Regions from separate parts of the Homo sapiens genome. Here region 2 is linked to region 1. Evidence: promoter capture Hi-C in 16 types of primary human blood cells and fetal thymus (Javierre and others, 2016). All regions are on one chromosome and are shown on one strand. Each heading gives the region's core, a stretch centred on a gene start or on the middle of the fragment in contact. The rest is flanking DNA. Distances are from core to core; before and after follow the strand shown. Region 1 holds the start of SPATA13-AS1 (SPATA13 antisense RNA 1). Region 2 overlaps FGF9 (fibroblast growth factor 9).

Region 1 (7,771 bases), core at 3,450-5,949:
TTGCACGTGCCTGTTGGGCCCCAGGGGTTCTTGGGAGGCCCAGCACCCAGCTCAGAGTGCACAAGGCCAGGCATGAGACGAGATGCTCACGGGCAGCCTGCAGATTCTTATCAAAACTACAGCTTACCCATATGGATGGTCCACCCCAAGGATGCTAACCTTGCTCCCCAGTGGCTAGCTAGGATATGCTCTCCTTTTATGAATTTCCTGCCCTGACAAAGCTCCTGACGTGGACCTGAGTAGTGGAAGAGCAGTAACCTTGATCGTACGGGGAAGAGGACCTGTTTCTGTGGTAGAAAGTGTTCTGTTTAGAACTCAGCATTTCTTTTAAAATAGTCCTTTGTTTGTTCTTGTGGTAAAAGGGGAAATGTAGCATGCTGGATTTATCACTAAGACATTTATTTTCAAAATTTAAGTATCTTATTCCTCACTCATATCTCTAACTTTTCAGTCTCTCTTTTTTTTTAGCGGAGAGGAGGTCTCACTCTGTTGCCCAGGCTGGGTGCAGTGGTGCGATCTTGGCCCGCTGCAACCTCTGCCTCCCAGGCTCAAGCAATCCTCCCATCTCAGCCTCCTGAGTAGCTGGTACTACAGGAACGCACGACAACTCTTGGCTAATTTTTTTGTATTTTTAGTAGAGATGGGGTTTTGCCATGTTGGCCAGGCTGGTCTCAAACTTGTGGGCTCAAGTGATCTGCCGACCTCAGCCTCCCAAAGTGCTGGGATTACAGACATGAGCCACCGTGCCTGGCCTTTTTTTTTTTTTTTTTTTTGAGATGAACTCTTCATTCTCATGGTAAACTCCGGTATAAACAAGGACCAATTTCACACATCTGTGACACTTTTTACTTGCTTTCTTATTGACAGGCAGAATCCAGAGTTCTTTTTATTTTTTTTTTTTTGAGATAGAGTTTCACTCTTGTTGCCCAGGCTGGAGTGCCATGGCGCAATGTAGGCTCACTGCAACCTCTATCTTCCGTGTTCAAGCAATTCTCCTGCCTCAGCCTCCCAGGTAGCTGGGATTACAGGCATGCGCCACCACACCCAGCTAATTTTGTATTTTTAGTAGAGAAAGAGATGAGGTTTCACCATGTTGGTTAGGCTAGTTTTGAACTCCTAACCTCAGGTGATCCACCACACCTGCCCAGAATCCAGAATTCTTATCGTTTCAGAGCACGTTTTCAAAAGCACTCCTCTCTTCACCACTCACTGGCCAGCTCAGATGGGCTTCTCAGACAGGCTGGTTGGCATAAAATTTGGGTCATGCTGTCCCCTTCACAGATCAAGATGTTATTTATTTATAACCTGCCTTTAAAGGACTCAATTTTTGGTTGTTTCCTAATGAAAAATGTGGATAGGTGGTTATGATTTAGTTTTACAACCTGCCTGCTAGCAATTCGTATTACTGTATCACTCTGATAAAGAATGAGTGACTCAGCCTAGCTCACTAGAGTGCTAGACTGGGTCAATTTGCTTCTCTTTTCTAGCTTGCAAAAAAAGAACTATATTTGCCAAAAAAAAAAAAAGTAAAAATTTAAAAAATCAAATTGAGCAATTACTTCAGTAAGTTAGAAACATTTTTTAAAGCAAGTCAACTTGCCAAGTTTGTGTCCCCTCAAAAAGGGCATTTTCTCTAGTTTTTATATCTAGCTATTATTGTACCTCATCTTGACTTTCCTCTTTTATTATCTGGCAGTATTACTAAATGCTCTAATACGGTGTACTTACTGGTTAACTAAAGGGCTTTCAAGAAATGTAACAGACCAGGTATCTTTTTTTGAAAGGGGTCTACCCATATCGACTGACTTTGGTGCACGGGTGTGCATTCGTCCTTTGCTTGTCTCTGTGAAGTTCCCACTCAAGTCTAACAGCGAAGTAAACTGGACACTCTCCTCTCTGGAAGATAAGAAAAGCAAGCTAATCTGAACTCTGGACAAGATACGTAGAAAGAGAAGGGGAATGGATAATAGAGACAAAGGGAAATTCAAAGTAAGAATTCTGAAAAGCACTCGAATTTGACTTCTGATCAACATAAACAGACCGGTTAAAGGAAGAAGTATGGTTGGAACCCAATGTTAAGTACAAAAAAATTAGGAGCTTAGGTAGGCTGTGATGGAGTAAGTTGTCTCAAATGAAAGAGAAAAGCTTCACTGAAAGCAAAGCAAAGGCGGCAAAGATAATTCCCCAGGAAAATCTTCTAGCAGTGTGGGCATCCTTCCTGAAACCCAAGGAAGGTGAAGCCACAAACACCATCCCCAACAATGCAGTGGTGTTTACAGGTTGTCACTCTTCCCTCCGATAAGGCTCCAATAAGTGCCACTGAAATTCATTATCCCAACTCTATTATCCCAAATAACACACCCAGTAGCCTACAAACATGACTCAGGCCTGTCCCACATGACCTGCCTTCGCAGGCTGTGTGGCTGGCAAGAGGTAAGACAGGTGCTACAAACAGGGCCAGAGAAAAGTGGTGAGAGAAAGGAAGAGCACAGCACGGCGCTGCCAAGTTCTCGGAAGGGAGGGCTCCATTCACCTAGAAAGACTCTGCCTTCATTTCTTTAAAAAAAAAAAAATTAAATGCAATGTTCAATTTTCTATATTTTGAGAAAAATTTAGTTGTGGATACTACTTAATTTGGAGAGTTTTTTATATTATTATTTTAAACTCACATAATAATTGTACAATATTTATGGGGTACAGTGTGATATTTCAATATATGTATACAATGTGGAATGAGCAAATCAGGGTAATTAGCATATCATCACCCCAAGCACTTATCATTTATTTGTATTAAGAACATTTGAATCCTCTCTTCTAGCTATTTTGAACTATACAATACATTGTCATTAACTGTGGCACAGTAGGACTTATTCTTCCTGTCTAGCTCTATTTTTATATCCATTTACCAACCTTTGGTTATCAAGATTTTGAGAATACTTGACCAGGGAGGAGAAATATACTTTCATTATTATTTAAAAGTTGATACTACAGAAAATTTCAAATACACACAAAAGCAGATAATACCATGAACCCACGATTATCAGTCTTTTGCCAATATTGTTTCAACTATTTCCCACCAACTTTTTTGGAGTATTTTAAAACAAATCTCACATATCATATTTTATGCAGAAAGTATTTCACTATCTGTGTATAACAAACAAGGACTTAAAAATAACTGCACTATCTTATCCCAACTAACAAAATTAAAAATAATTCCTTCATGTTGCCAAATATTCAGTTCATCTGAAAATCTCCCCAACGTGTCTCAAAATGATGCTTTTACAGCTGGTTTGCTGAGCTCAATTTGTGGGCTTACTGAGCTGGATGCCATTCTAGCACTTCGTTGGTATATAAACCTAAAACCCTCAGTGCATAGAAAGGAAGGAGTTCCAGGACTGGGATGGAAATGCTAGAGATGGTCTATCATGTGAGTCTCACCACCCCTTGGGCTGCATCTCCCATGTGACAGCAGCTTTTATAATTAATGTACTGCTAATCTCTCTAGGCCAGAGATGCTGCTGAGAGATGGTTCCACTGCAATGCAAACCTGGTCCTCCATGGGGGTGGGACATCTGTCATGGGAAAAAGGTGGGCATAGTTACTATACCACACAGCAGGGCCAGCTTGGTCATCTGAATGGTTTGACCTGTGAAATCTCTGGTTGTGCTGTTAACTGATCTCGGGGTCCCCAGGAACAAAACAGATGAGTGATTCCACAAAGGTACCACAACATTGTGTAGGAGGAACTCTCCAGGGCTGGCAAGCAGAGCCCGACCTGAGCCACCATGACAGAGAAGACAAGGGAGGGCCCTCACTCAACTCCCAGACTCAGGCCTCTTGATGGAGCAGAGCCAGGGAGCCTCAGGGTAGGCATCCTACTACAAGTCTTCTTCCTAGCTTCTCAAAGAGAACTCCTACCATCAGCCTGGTGACTGTGTCCTCAGGACAGGGAAACTCCCGGCGGCAAATGTAAGCAATACTCTTCCCAAGCCTTTCTGAGTAGGAGAGATGGCTTTGGCAAGGCAAGGATTTAGCTCGTGCGCACTCCTGGTTAGGAGCTAATGGCCTGGCTGAATGGCCTGGAGGAATGTGGAAAGAACAAGATGGGCTGAGGATGGGTTTGGGGAAGGAGTATAACTGGCTACCTCAGAATACCCGCAGAGCATGAGATGATGTCCATCCTACATGAATCCTTATTGCAAGAGAGGCTAATCAATCATCATGTGGACATGCTGTCCCAATGTGCAGCTAGATGCCAGTCTTCCTTCCTAGTCATCTTGATACTTGCTCAGTGGGTTCATAAAAAGGAAAAAAAAAAAGAAGCAAGCAAGAAAAAGGCCATGGTGGCAAAAATGGATGCCAAGCCTGGGCTAAACCACAGGAAGTCTGGGCCTTCCCCTCAACAAAGCTGATGATACGGTTCCCCGCAGGAACCAGACAGCCCCTTGCGGAAAGCTGATTGCAGTGGGGCCTTTTCATAATAGAGGGGGTGGTGATTTGTCCCTACTGGAAGGGCCACTTATGCTGGGCTTGGATTTGTTTTCCTGCACTCTGTGGATCCTCTAGAAGGCCCCTATCCTGTCGCAGCATCTCACACGCCATCCAGGCCCAGAACGTCACAGAGAAGGAAGCACATGACCCCATCACACCCAATAACAACCAAATAAAAATGAAGTTACAGAGGCAGCTGGGAGACACACCCAGAAGTTGCCATACTGCCCTGGATGGGACGCAAGCTCTGAAGCAGTGACTAATTTGGAGAGGCTGGCCCACAGCAGAAGATGCAGGGCCGGAAACCAAGGGTAAACATAGAAGCGGCTTCTTAGGATTACTTAATAATATACTTGCAAAATGTTTTCTTCCCACCTAGGAACTCTGCTCTGTTGAAACTGAATTTAGTGCCCAAGGGAGAAGTACTTCCTCCAGAGTTCACAGTCCTGGCCACAGTGAATCAGAACCAAGGCTGGCCATTTTTGCCTCTTCGTACCACTGGGAAAATGAGCACCCACGGAAAATGGGGATGGCTTTTGTGGTCACTGCTACCATATTTCTCAAATGGACTAATGCAATCGCCTTCAAATCAATCTCCATTCCTCTTCCTTTCCCCCCACAAACTGCCCTCCCTCTCTAAGCATAAACCGGAACATAATATGCTCCTGCTGCCAATGGCTTCACACCACACTTAGAACAAGCTCAGCCTCCTCATGACCTGCAGAGCCCTTTCCAGCCTCAGCCCACCTCCCAGCCTGCAACATCCTCGTCTGCCTCTTGCTCCCTGAGCTCCTGTCACTGTGGCCTCCTTGCTGAACCTCAGACACATCATGTTTCCTGCCTGTCTTTGGGCTTCTGGTGCTCCTTCGGCTAGGACTTCTCCTCCCTCGGATCTCTGCCTCACTGCCTCCTACTCACCTGTCCCCAGCGTCACCTCCTTGGAGAGGAGGCTATCTCCCCCACCTGCTCCTACTCCTCACATTACCCAAAGTCATCTTCTGCAGGGCCGTCACTGGTGCCTTGGTGCATCCTACATATTGACTTATGGAATCTGTTCAAATGCTGAAATGTAAACTTTGCATGACGTTTTATTCTCCACAGCATCCCAAATTCTCTATTTCCTTCCTTTCCCTGCCTTGCCATTCTGGTAGGGATGTGTTGCTTAAATCTGCCTCTAGTTAATCAACGCTGAAGAGGCACTGCATGGAACTGGAGGACTAGTTATCCTAAGAGGTCCTAGACTTGGAGGTGTCTGCTGCCACTGATGAGGATCTGGGTGTCTCCTTCTAGGGAAGAGAGAGAGGGTTCATGGAACAGGTGCATCCTGTTCATTAGAGTGTCATTAGAATAACACTCTTTGGAAATGAATGCTCTCTATCCTGTTTTATTTTTCTTTATAGTACTGTCTGCTCTGTTAAATACTTACTTGGCCTGTCTTCACATATAGAAGGCAAGGGTCCCTGGAGACAGACACCCCACCCTTCTTCCTGTTCCAGTACCACCAGGTGGTGGACATATCACCTAAGCTCGGACAGCTGAATCTTCCATCCTGGGACCTGAACCCCTGGGTGAGTGACAGAAAGACAGTCACTAACTCCTAATAAGTTAACTCCTTATTATAACTCCTCCCCAAATAAGTATACACTTCTTCAAGATAGGGTCTTTAATTAAATGTTTTGTATTTTCAAAGCGCTCACTGGATACCCAGATAAAGTGCTCACTGGATACCTCACTAGCTCCTGGGACAGTGCCATGGCCAGTCTCCCATCACACACCTTCCGGTGGCTCCTCCACTCCCAGGAGTGAGCCTGGATGCCATCCCTTCCCTAGCCTGGTTCCCCAGCCATCCCATCAATTCTGGGCACACCTGGCCCCCTTCCAATAAATTCCCTTTTTGCTTAAGACAGCCAGAGTTAGGTTTTGTTGCTTTTCGACAAAAGAACGCTAAAATTAAAACATTTTTAACATAACAACAAAAACCAGTGTTACAGAAAGCAGGGAAAGGCTGTGTGTACACAGGTACGGGGTGGGAGGAGAAGTGCTCTACATTCCTACCACCCTAACAATGCTACTGTTATTTCTGCCTGTTCTTTCAAAATCTTCTGCCATATGGGTACACGTTGCATATTGTTACAAACATGGTATACGTTTTTGATTGAATTGTGTCCCCCCAAAAGATGGTGAAGTCCTAACCCCCAGTACCCATGAGTGTGACCTTATTTGGAAATAGTCTTAGGTAGATAATCACATTAAGATGAGGTCACTAAGTTGGGCCCACATGCAGTAAGCCTGGTGTCTTTATAAAAAGGGGAAATCTGAACACAGACAGACACAGGGGAGAATGCCATGTGAACATGAAGGCAGAGATGAGGCAATGCTCCTACAGGCCAAGGAACACTGAGGGCACCAGACGCAAGGAAAGCAGCCTGGAGCAGACCCTCCCTCACAGCCCTCAGAAGAAACTGACCCTGCTGACGTGTTGATCTCGGATTTCTAGCCTGGGTCTCGGTTCTTTAGGGATCTCCACATGCAGGAATGTATGTACACGGACACCACAGGAGGGGCAAACTTCTCAAACTTAGAGCCACCAGCCTGGCACACAGAGCATCTACCCCAGACAGCAAATGATGCACCATTCTCCTGAGATGAGCCGTCCTCACTCCCAGACAAACGCGCCCTGGCCCAAGGGAGGCGCGAAGGTGCAGAACCTGCTGCCTCAGGTTAGCTGGAAACGGTCAGATGGGCCCATAGCAGCTCTGAAAGGAAAGGGACTCTGAGACTCACCGTTGGATGCTCTCATCTGCCGCCGGCGTCCCACACGGTCCAACCCAATGGGGGTGCTCTGGGAGAATGTGAAGGGCCGGAACCGGGCCGACACAGCCTTGTAGGGTGGCACCTGGTGAGCAGGCATGGGCGGCCTGGAAGCCGGCTGCAAAAAGAAAGCAAAATCTGTGAGGAGGTACCAGGAAGTGGCAGCTCTTGCAAGCACCTCACACGCATAGCGCTCTCACCTCGAAGCCACTCACAGACGTGAAATGGTTTCTCCAATCCTGCCACGAGTTGCAGGCTGCACCGAAGCCCAGTGGCAACTCATGATGCTACAGTTTTTAACAATCCTGATCAGCTTACTGGCCCGCACCCTGCAGCCTCATGTTTCATCTCACTTGTCTGCAACATGCCAATAGGTCACACTAAGGAAAAAGAAGCTTCTGAGAAGATGAAGGCACATTTAGGAAGCAGTGGAGTTGTCACACAGATGCAGGGTCACAAGGGTAAGAAG
Region 2 (7,771 bases), core at 4,121-6,620, 2.6 Mb after region 1:
TTAAAAATACTTTCAAATATTAAAAATTTTACTTACATTTAAGAGTTCAGAAAAAAACTTAGGGTAACAATGTGCTATAGTCAGTCTCATGTGACTAATAAAAAAGCACTTACATGAATTTTTCAACAATTAATTCTGCAACTCTCACAAAATACACTGGTACTGCAATCAAAAGAAGACATGAACAGCATAAATCTAATAAAGGATTAACTCAAGAGGAAACTATTTCAAGGTGATGTAAAAAAGAAGAGCTATTTCTTCTAAAGGGGCATTCCTAATTCTTTTATAAGGACAAAATGTAACAAATTTATCTTGTGCTTAATGTAATTATTTTAATAGGATGTTAAACAGTATATCAAAAAAAGTGAAATTACAAATTGTGTTTTGAATCTGATAATCTATGACTCTATGATGGAGAATACATGCAAAAGAAGCCAGTTTATTACTAGCCTTCCCTACTTCAAAAGCAAATGGGAATATAAATAAGGCAATATTTCCATGAGATTCATTTTTCATGAGATGCACTCCCTTTTTGATGCATTTTATTTCATTGTACTATTCTTCTGAGTCAAAATAACTAAAATTGTGGCATTTTATTATTATTAGCAGTCACATGTATGTGAATATCTTCTTAGTAACCTGAAAGCACACCAAAATGTGGGTCATACATACCCTGAAATTAATGTAATGAGTTAATTAATGTTCAATTTTCGTCGTAAGATGAAATGCAGGAAACATTTGGCCCCTTTTGAGGTCTGAATGATTTAATTTACCAGGTCAATAAGGAAAGGTTTAATCATAAAACTAAAAAATATTTGCAGCTTCTAAGGGAGCATGTGATGATCTTTCTGCTTTCCCTGCACACGGAGTAGCTGAGGACTAATAATGAATATTAGCCAGTGTTGCCCATCAGGTCCAACAAAGAATAAGGTGCATGTGATTTCACAAAACCTTTTCACTGGCTGGTCTGCAGAACATCAAGAAAAAAAAATAACAGCAGCAGCAATGATAATTGTAATAGTAAAAATTCTTGAGCATTTAGTCTATGCCAAATGAGAGGCCGTCTCTCATTTAATCCCCAGAACAACTCTAGGCATTACAATATTCTAATCCCCAGTGTACAAATGGGGAAATTGAGGTTTAAGGAGGTTAATAATTAGCCCCCAAGCAACTGGACTCCAAAACCTATTTCCTTAACTATTATGCACATCTTACATTTGGTTTTACCTTTTTTAATGTTTCTGTGATTTCTGTACCATTTTCATATAGCTGAGTTCTGAAAGTATTACTATATAATTTAGAAATGAAGATATCAAGATATCTATCTCGTTTCTTTTTCTGGCATTGACAAGACAGCTGTAATTCATATTCGTTCACTTTTTCATTCAAGAAGCTATTATTGAGGGTTTATTATAAGCCAAGCACCATACCATTTATTGAGTATATAAAGATGAACCGGATATAGCCTAGGTCCTATTACCCTCAAATTTTTGCTCACCATCTGTTGGGAAGAAGAACACGTAAACAGATAAATATAACAACAGTGTGGCAAATGCAGTTGAGAGGGAGCTGTTCAGGGTATGGGCAGTCCAAAGATGGGCAGCTCATCTGGGTTTCTGAAGGCAAGTCAGAGGCTTCCCAAGAAAATAAATACCTGAGATAAGTCTCCAAAAAGCTATCCAAGCGAGAAGGAACTACCTACAGACCCCAGGTGGAAAAGATTTCATCACCTCAAACCACCACCCATTTCTCCGCAGTTCCTTAAAAATAGAGACGTCAAAATAACAGCCCAGCTTTTTATGTGGTCACCTCAGTGATGCAAGGACAAGCAGACCAACTGAACGTAGGAGTCACAGTCATTCTCCCCCATGCAAAGAATTCCACTGTTGTAAGGTCAGGAAGATCTAGCAACCCCGCAACAGGATCCCACCCCAACCAGACCAGAAACCTCATCATTCCTGGTACCCTCTTGTCCACAATAAATTCTATAACCTCAACCAGGTCCATTCAGCTCTCTCTGGGGTGGAGCTGGTGCCAGGCAAGTGCTTCCAACTACACTCCCTGAGTACAACCCACTCCACATGTTATCTGCTCACATGACTGGGCAGCAGAGGGGGCTGGATCAATAACAGCCAGGAGAAGCCTTCTGTGCAGAGACATCTGAATGTTTAATGATCAAGGAGAGAGAAAGGGAAAGAAGGAAAGAGCAAAGAAAAGAAGGAAGGAAGAGGGGAGGAGGAAGGGAGGGAATGATGAGTTTGTGCCTAAAATTAGAACTGTGGCACACACATGTGTACCATGGCAGCCTGTCGCTCATTTTGGGCAGACACAGCCTTGACATCCTTAGCTCAGACGGCCCACAGTAATGGGTAGTGATAGGGTGACATGGGAAGCACAGGGTCGATGACTGCTGTCATTTCTTTGTTCTCTTCCACAGCAGTCAACAGTTCCAAATGAGGATATGCTCATTGGGACCCCATTGGATTTGATGAGGTGTGAGATCATCCATGGTCCATGAGAGACCAGGTCAATGCCTGGACTATTTCAGGAAAATCACCACACCGGACCTTCCTCATTGCCCCAGACTCACTATTAGTGACTATCCCCAGAGCTGATGGGCTGCCCCAGTTCTGTTCACATGGACCATTATCCCAAAGCTGGCACCGCCCCCTAGAGCCCATCTGTGCTGGGCCTCACCTCCAAGGCCAGGCAAGGCAGTGGGAGAGGAAGGCAGTCAGAGCTGCTCCACTCTGGCCCTCATGACATGGTTCTCTGGCTTAAGAGCCCCCAACGCATTACAGAACCGCACTCTTCAGACCACACAAATGTAGGCAGACTGTCGAGAGGGGCAGGGCATGAGGCTGCAGAAAATTAATGATTAAGCCTCTTCCCTGCAGAGCTTCCTGCTCACCCAGAGAAGCTCGAACCAGGGCTGCCAGATCAACCATCTCAGATCCTGCACCGGGGTAAGTTCGGATCTGTAGCAACCTGAGCACATCTCATAGAGTTTATATAGGAAATGACTAACTGAATGGGAGTTATAACTCCACTAATTTTTCCAGAACCTGAAGCAATCCTAAAACCATCTCCTTAAACACCCAGTGTTTTCCTGAGACATTGAAGAGTCAGATACATAGAACAGAATTAAAGTTCAAAACCCTGGAAATAAGTTTTAAACACCTGTTTAAAAAAATCATACTATCATATTTCTCCCCTCTAGTAAAACCTTCACCTGACCCAATTTGAATGGAAGCCCCAGTTTGGGTGCTCATCTGAGGTCCTGATGAAGACCGGCCTTTCAGAGCTACCTAACCCCAGCCAAAAAGGGAACAGACTTAGGTTTCCTAAACAAGTTAAATAGCAGATCAGGCCCAGCGTTCATGTTTTTATTATTTTACATTACTATTTCCCCAAATGATTTTCTGCTCACATTTCTATCCATCTAGCAAGGCTGGAGTGCTTTAAAAGTGAGCTCTATATATAGGCATATAGATATACAGATGAAACAAGACATCTCGCTCCCCCAGCCTACTGCACAGAGATACAATTGCGAGTTCCTTTTCTCCTTGTTCAATCTTATCTCCACACCACCAATCCGAGGGGGAAAAAAAAAAAAAAAGGCTCCTTCAAGGTCCCACCTAAGTTGTCACCTCTGCAGCTCCTGCTGGAACAGTAAGACTCCCCCACCCCCACGTCCTCTGCACTGCTGCTGCTGTGTCACTGCCAAGCTTGCCAGCAGCTGCAGTCACCTGCGGCTGCATGGGGGCGGCAAAAATCCTTTTTCCAGCGCGTTTCCTTCTGCTGTTTGATTTCAGGTAGAAAATGCACCTTCTATTTTAATCAAGGTGTAAACCCACCGCACCCCCCACCTACAGTTACTCTTTTCTAGAGAAACTGAGTGTGAGGACGAACTCCCCAGAGGGGAGCCGGGCTGCGGAGGAGAGGCTGCTGCCGGAGGAGGAGGAGGGCCGAAGGTGAGGCCGCGGCGGCGCGCGGGAGCGCCAGGTGTGCCAGAGCCGGGGCACCGCAGCCCCCTCGCCCCCTCCCGGCGCCTGTGCCCTCCCTCCGCCCTCCCCGCGCGAGCCGCGGTGTCCTAGCGCCGCCGCGGCCTCGTTCCGGGCGGGGCTGGGAAGGCGAGGGTAGGAGGCTCCCGGCACACGCACCACCGCTCTGCGGAGGTTGCTAATATTGGGACCTGCCGCAGCGGCAGCAGCGGGAGACCGCGGCACTGCTGTCACCCCGGGGGCCCGCTTCTCACTGCAACCGGATGAAAGACTTAAATAACCCTCCTGCCTCACCCTGCTTCCCCACCCCCACTGCGCACAGCCACCCACTCAACTCCATCCCAGCCAGAGTGAGTGGCACAGCGGAGCGCCAGAGCGCCCTTCCCCCTCGGCCGACGCCAGGCCGACGGGCTAGCTAGCGGCTCGGCGCCCCCAGTCCCCAACCTGGGCCGGGGCTTCCGCTCCCCTCCCATCCAACACTACCCCTAGCCCCTCCCCCCAGCCCCCACATCCCCCCCAGCCCCCACATCCCCCGCAACACTGTACCGAGAGCGTCTAAGGAGTGGAGATGCCACTTCCCTGACAACACCTTTCTCTGACCTCTAGGGGTGAGGGGTCTAGCTTTTTGTTTAACGGTTTCTATTGAGCCACTGTAGCCCGCCGCTGTCCTCATCCGCTCACCCTAGAATGCGCCTCTCCTGCCCTCCCCTCCCGCGTGGCCCCCGCCCTTGCATCCGCGCTCTCTCCAGTGGCAGAGTTACGGGATTTCTAATGACTCGACTGCATGTGGCAAACGTCCTATCCTAAAGGTGACTGCATCAAAAAAAAAAAATGCTCATGGAGGGAAGGGGTGCGTGAAGAAGCGCCAACTAGAATATCCCATAATCTCTGCACACCAGGGCCCAGTCGTGCTGCACCGGAGTTCTAATAGGGTCTCTCAAAGACAGGCTCGGCTGATCCACACAATAAAACCGGCTCGGGCCCGCCGCGGCGCCCCTGCAGCCGTGCGCCCCCGCCGCGCTCCCGCGCACACCCCGGGCTCCCCCGGTTGTGAAGCCGGAGCGGAGGCGGGGGCGCGGGAAAGCCAGATCGCGATCGGCGAGCTCGCGAGCTCTGCTCTCGGAAAGCGGTTAACAATAGCACGCCGCCCCCTCCGCCCGCCTCCGCGGCCCTTTGTCCCCCCCACCCCCACTCCTTTCCCTGCGGCTCCGGCCAGGGGCCCCCGACCCACCTCCCGGGCACCACGGAGCCCTTCGAGTCTCCAAAACCCGGCTGCGTGCTTCAGAAGAAGGACACGGAATGGGACAGGGGAGCTCAGGGGTCCGACCTCCAGCCCGTCCTCTGTCCCCGCCACCAACTCTCCTGCCGCTGCGCGCGCCTCCAGCCGTTCCCACACCGCAAACCACCGTGCAGCCCAGGGCGGCGGCTGTCAGCCCCGCCAGACCCACTCTCACACACAAAGAGAAAGCGAAGGGGCTCAACTTGGGCCAAAATGAAAAACCGGATTCCCTAAACGCGGCCAGAAGTGTGTCAGCCCCTGCCTGCCGCCCCCCGGCCCCCGTGGTCCCCGCAGCACTGAAGGGCGCACCCGAGCCAGGCGGAAAGGGAGCCGGAACGCGAGCGCGTTTAGGACCGCGCGGAGCCGGCCGGGCAGCCGCTAAGTGCGCCGCGGGGCCCGGGCGGCCGAGCGGGCACCTGCCGACCGCGAGCGCGGGAGGGCTGGAGCTCCGGCCGCCTGGCACACCTAGGCCGGCCGCCCACGCCGCTCGCTTCGGTCGGCGCGGCCCCGACACCCTGCGGGTGGCCGCCGCGGCCCCGGACACGCTCGCTCGCCCACCCAGGGCCGCCCACTGCCTGTTGTTCTGGTATCGAACGCTAGGCAGGGTGGCAGCCCTTAAAGAGGCCAGATGGAAACGGCACTTTTAGTAAAGTTTAGTCTTCTCTTTGCAACAACCAGAATCTACCTTTACTTCTGGGGTGGGGAGGGGATAGTTATATTTCAACTGAATAATTGCAAAGCAAAGAGCTATAACTTTTTTTTAAGCAGCGAGTGGAGACGGCCGGAGCAATTTCACACTACTAGGCTCAGCTGTGGGCTTAGGCTCAGGGGTGAGCATGAGGAGCAAATCCTGGGCCTCGTGGATCTGGGACCATCCCCAGCCCAGGCCTAAGTCCTCCTCACCTTCTGGCATCATCCGCAGCCGCACGAAGCTAAACATACAGTTTAGATTGTGTTCAACATCTGGCACTAAAGCATGAGGAAGAAAAATCACCAGAGGACTTTGTTTTTTACGACCTAGTTTAAGTGTTGTCAGGTGGGTTCACTCAGAAGTTAACTCCTTCCAACAGTCTAGTTGCCCAAACTGGCGCTTATTTTTTTTTTTTTAAGTAAGGAAAAAACTCAAGAGTCCACCCAATTGGGACTGTGTTAGTTGACTTCGTGCCGTTGGGCTCAGGGTGCCCCGGCAAGCACGTGTGTGCAAGCATAAAGTGGGCAGAGCCACCAGCCCTCGAGTCTGCAGCCCTCAGTGCTGAGTCACAAATACCCTCCGCTGAAAAATGAAATCCTCGGAATGCCCTTTAAAATTCGCTCGCAGCGTTTGCACGCGCGCACACACTCACACCAGAGAGCCACGCAGGAGACCTACACAGGGCTGCACACTATGGAAATTTAAAAGCAGAGGTTATCACTTGATAGCTGGAAGGACAAAAACCCCTGAGCGCCCTGCCTCTTCCCAAGTCATTTTCCCCCAAGCCTCTGCCCCTGCTTTTCACGGAGCCTAAAATATGACTTTAGTCCTCCCAACAGGACAATCCGTCAGCAACCTTCGCCTATGGGGCTTTCAGACCCTCACAGGGGAGAATAAACAATGCACTTAATATACAATTCAAGTAGTATACTTACTAGAGGAAAGGGGGAAAGGAAAAAAACCTTAATTTGGGCACAAGATACCCACTGCCTTCAAGAAACTGCATTAAGTTCTTAGTAGTTAATGATTAAAGCTTTAAACTCGTGCAATCAGTCCATTCAAAAGAAACTTCCTAAACCCGTGTATCTGATGCAAAAGAACTGGAAACTTGTATTATATTTATAAATTATGCCCCCCTTTAAATTAAAAGTAGGGGGCCTTTCAGTGTATACTTGCATCAGTGCCAGCAGCAGATCTGCAATTCCGGAGGCATTTTTTTTTCGGAGCTGGCAAGACAGAGAGAGAGAGAGACAGAGATACAGAGAAAGAGGGGAGGAGGGGAGAACCCTTCCCACGTCCCCCACCCGGCCACCACCTTCTTGGTAGTTATAATTTCAACATGTCATCTCATGGACACTAAAGGGTTAATGGTATACCTACCAAATCGGCTGTGGTCTTTCCTGGTTCCCTGGATAGTACCATTGGGGAAGATTTCTAAGTGAAATCCAGTCCTGCAGTATAGCTGCCTCCGCCTGAGAATCCCCTTTAAATGATCCAAGTCCGTGACTGCGGGTCCCCTGGGGAGCCCCCCTGCTTCGGACTGACCCAGGTGGTCACTTAACAAAACCGGGCTGTCCACCGGCAACACGGGCACATTCCCAAACGGTACCGCATCCTGCACACCGAAATAGTTCCCAACTTCACCTAAGGGAGCCATCAGAGGACTCGGCTTTTGGAGCACAAGAATAAACAATAATGATGGTGTCAACCCAGGAGATATTAGGCGAGGTATATCCAACTCCCCTCCCTTACTGCAGTTGCAGAGAGAGAGAGAAAAAAAAGGTTCTTTTCTTCAAT

Evidence for each region. The method cuts DNA at HindIII sites, captures the fragments that hold promoters and counts their contacts. A CHiCAGO score of 5 or more calls a contact.
Region 2: a fragment that was not itself captured here is called in contact with the fragment with the promoter of SPATA13-AS1 in region 1 in 3 of 17 cell types (non-activated CD4 T cells, activated CD4 T cells and naive CD8 T cells); the score reaches 6.8 in non-activated CD4 T cells.

Annotation. Positions count from the first base shown.
Region 1 is chr13:24,251,367-24,259,137 of GRCh38, reverse strand. It overlaps SPATA13-AS1 (SPATA13 antisense RNA 1), which reads left to right and starts at 4,699. Exons shown (of 3, transcript NR_046531.1): 1 at 4,699-4,802; 2 at 5,939-6,059; 3 at 6,182-6,389. SPATA13 (spermatogenesis associated 13) reads right to left here. Exons shown (of 13, transcript NM_001166271.3): 4 at 7,276-7,420. RefSeq lists an enhancer at 7,276-7,410. The HindIII fragment of the contact is 5,552 bases long and covers 2,148-7,699 here.
Region 2 is chr13:21,671,773-21,679,543 of GRCh38, reverse strand. It overlaps FGF9 (fibroblast growth factor 9), which reads right to left. Exons shown (of 3, transcript NM_002010.3): 1 at 7,355-7,771. The coding sequence starts at 7,631. Among named protein-coding and RNA genes, the nearest start is that of FGF9, 4.6 kb to the right of the region's middle. RefSeq lists silencers at 4,048-4,097, 5,508-5,637, 5,658-5,877. The HindIII fragment of the contact is 3,279 bases long and covers 3,731-7,009 here.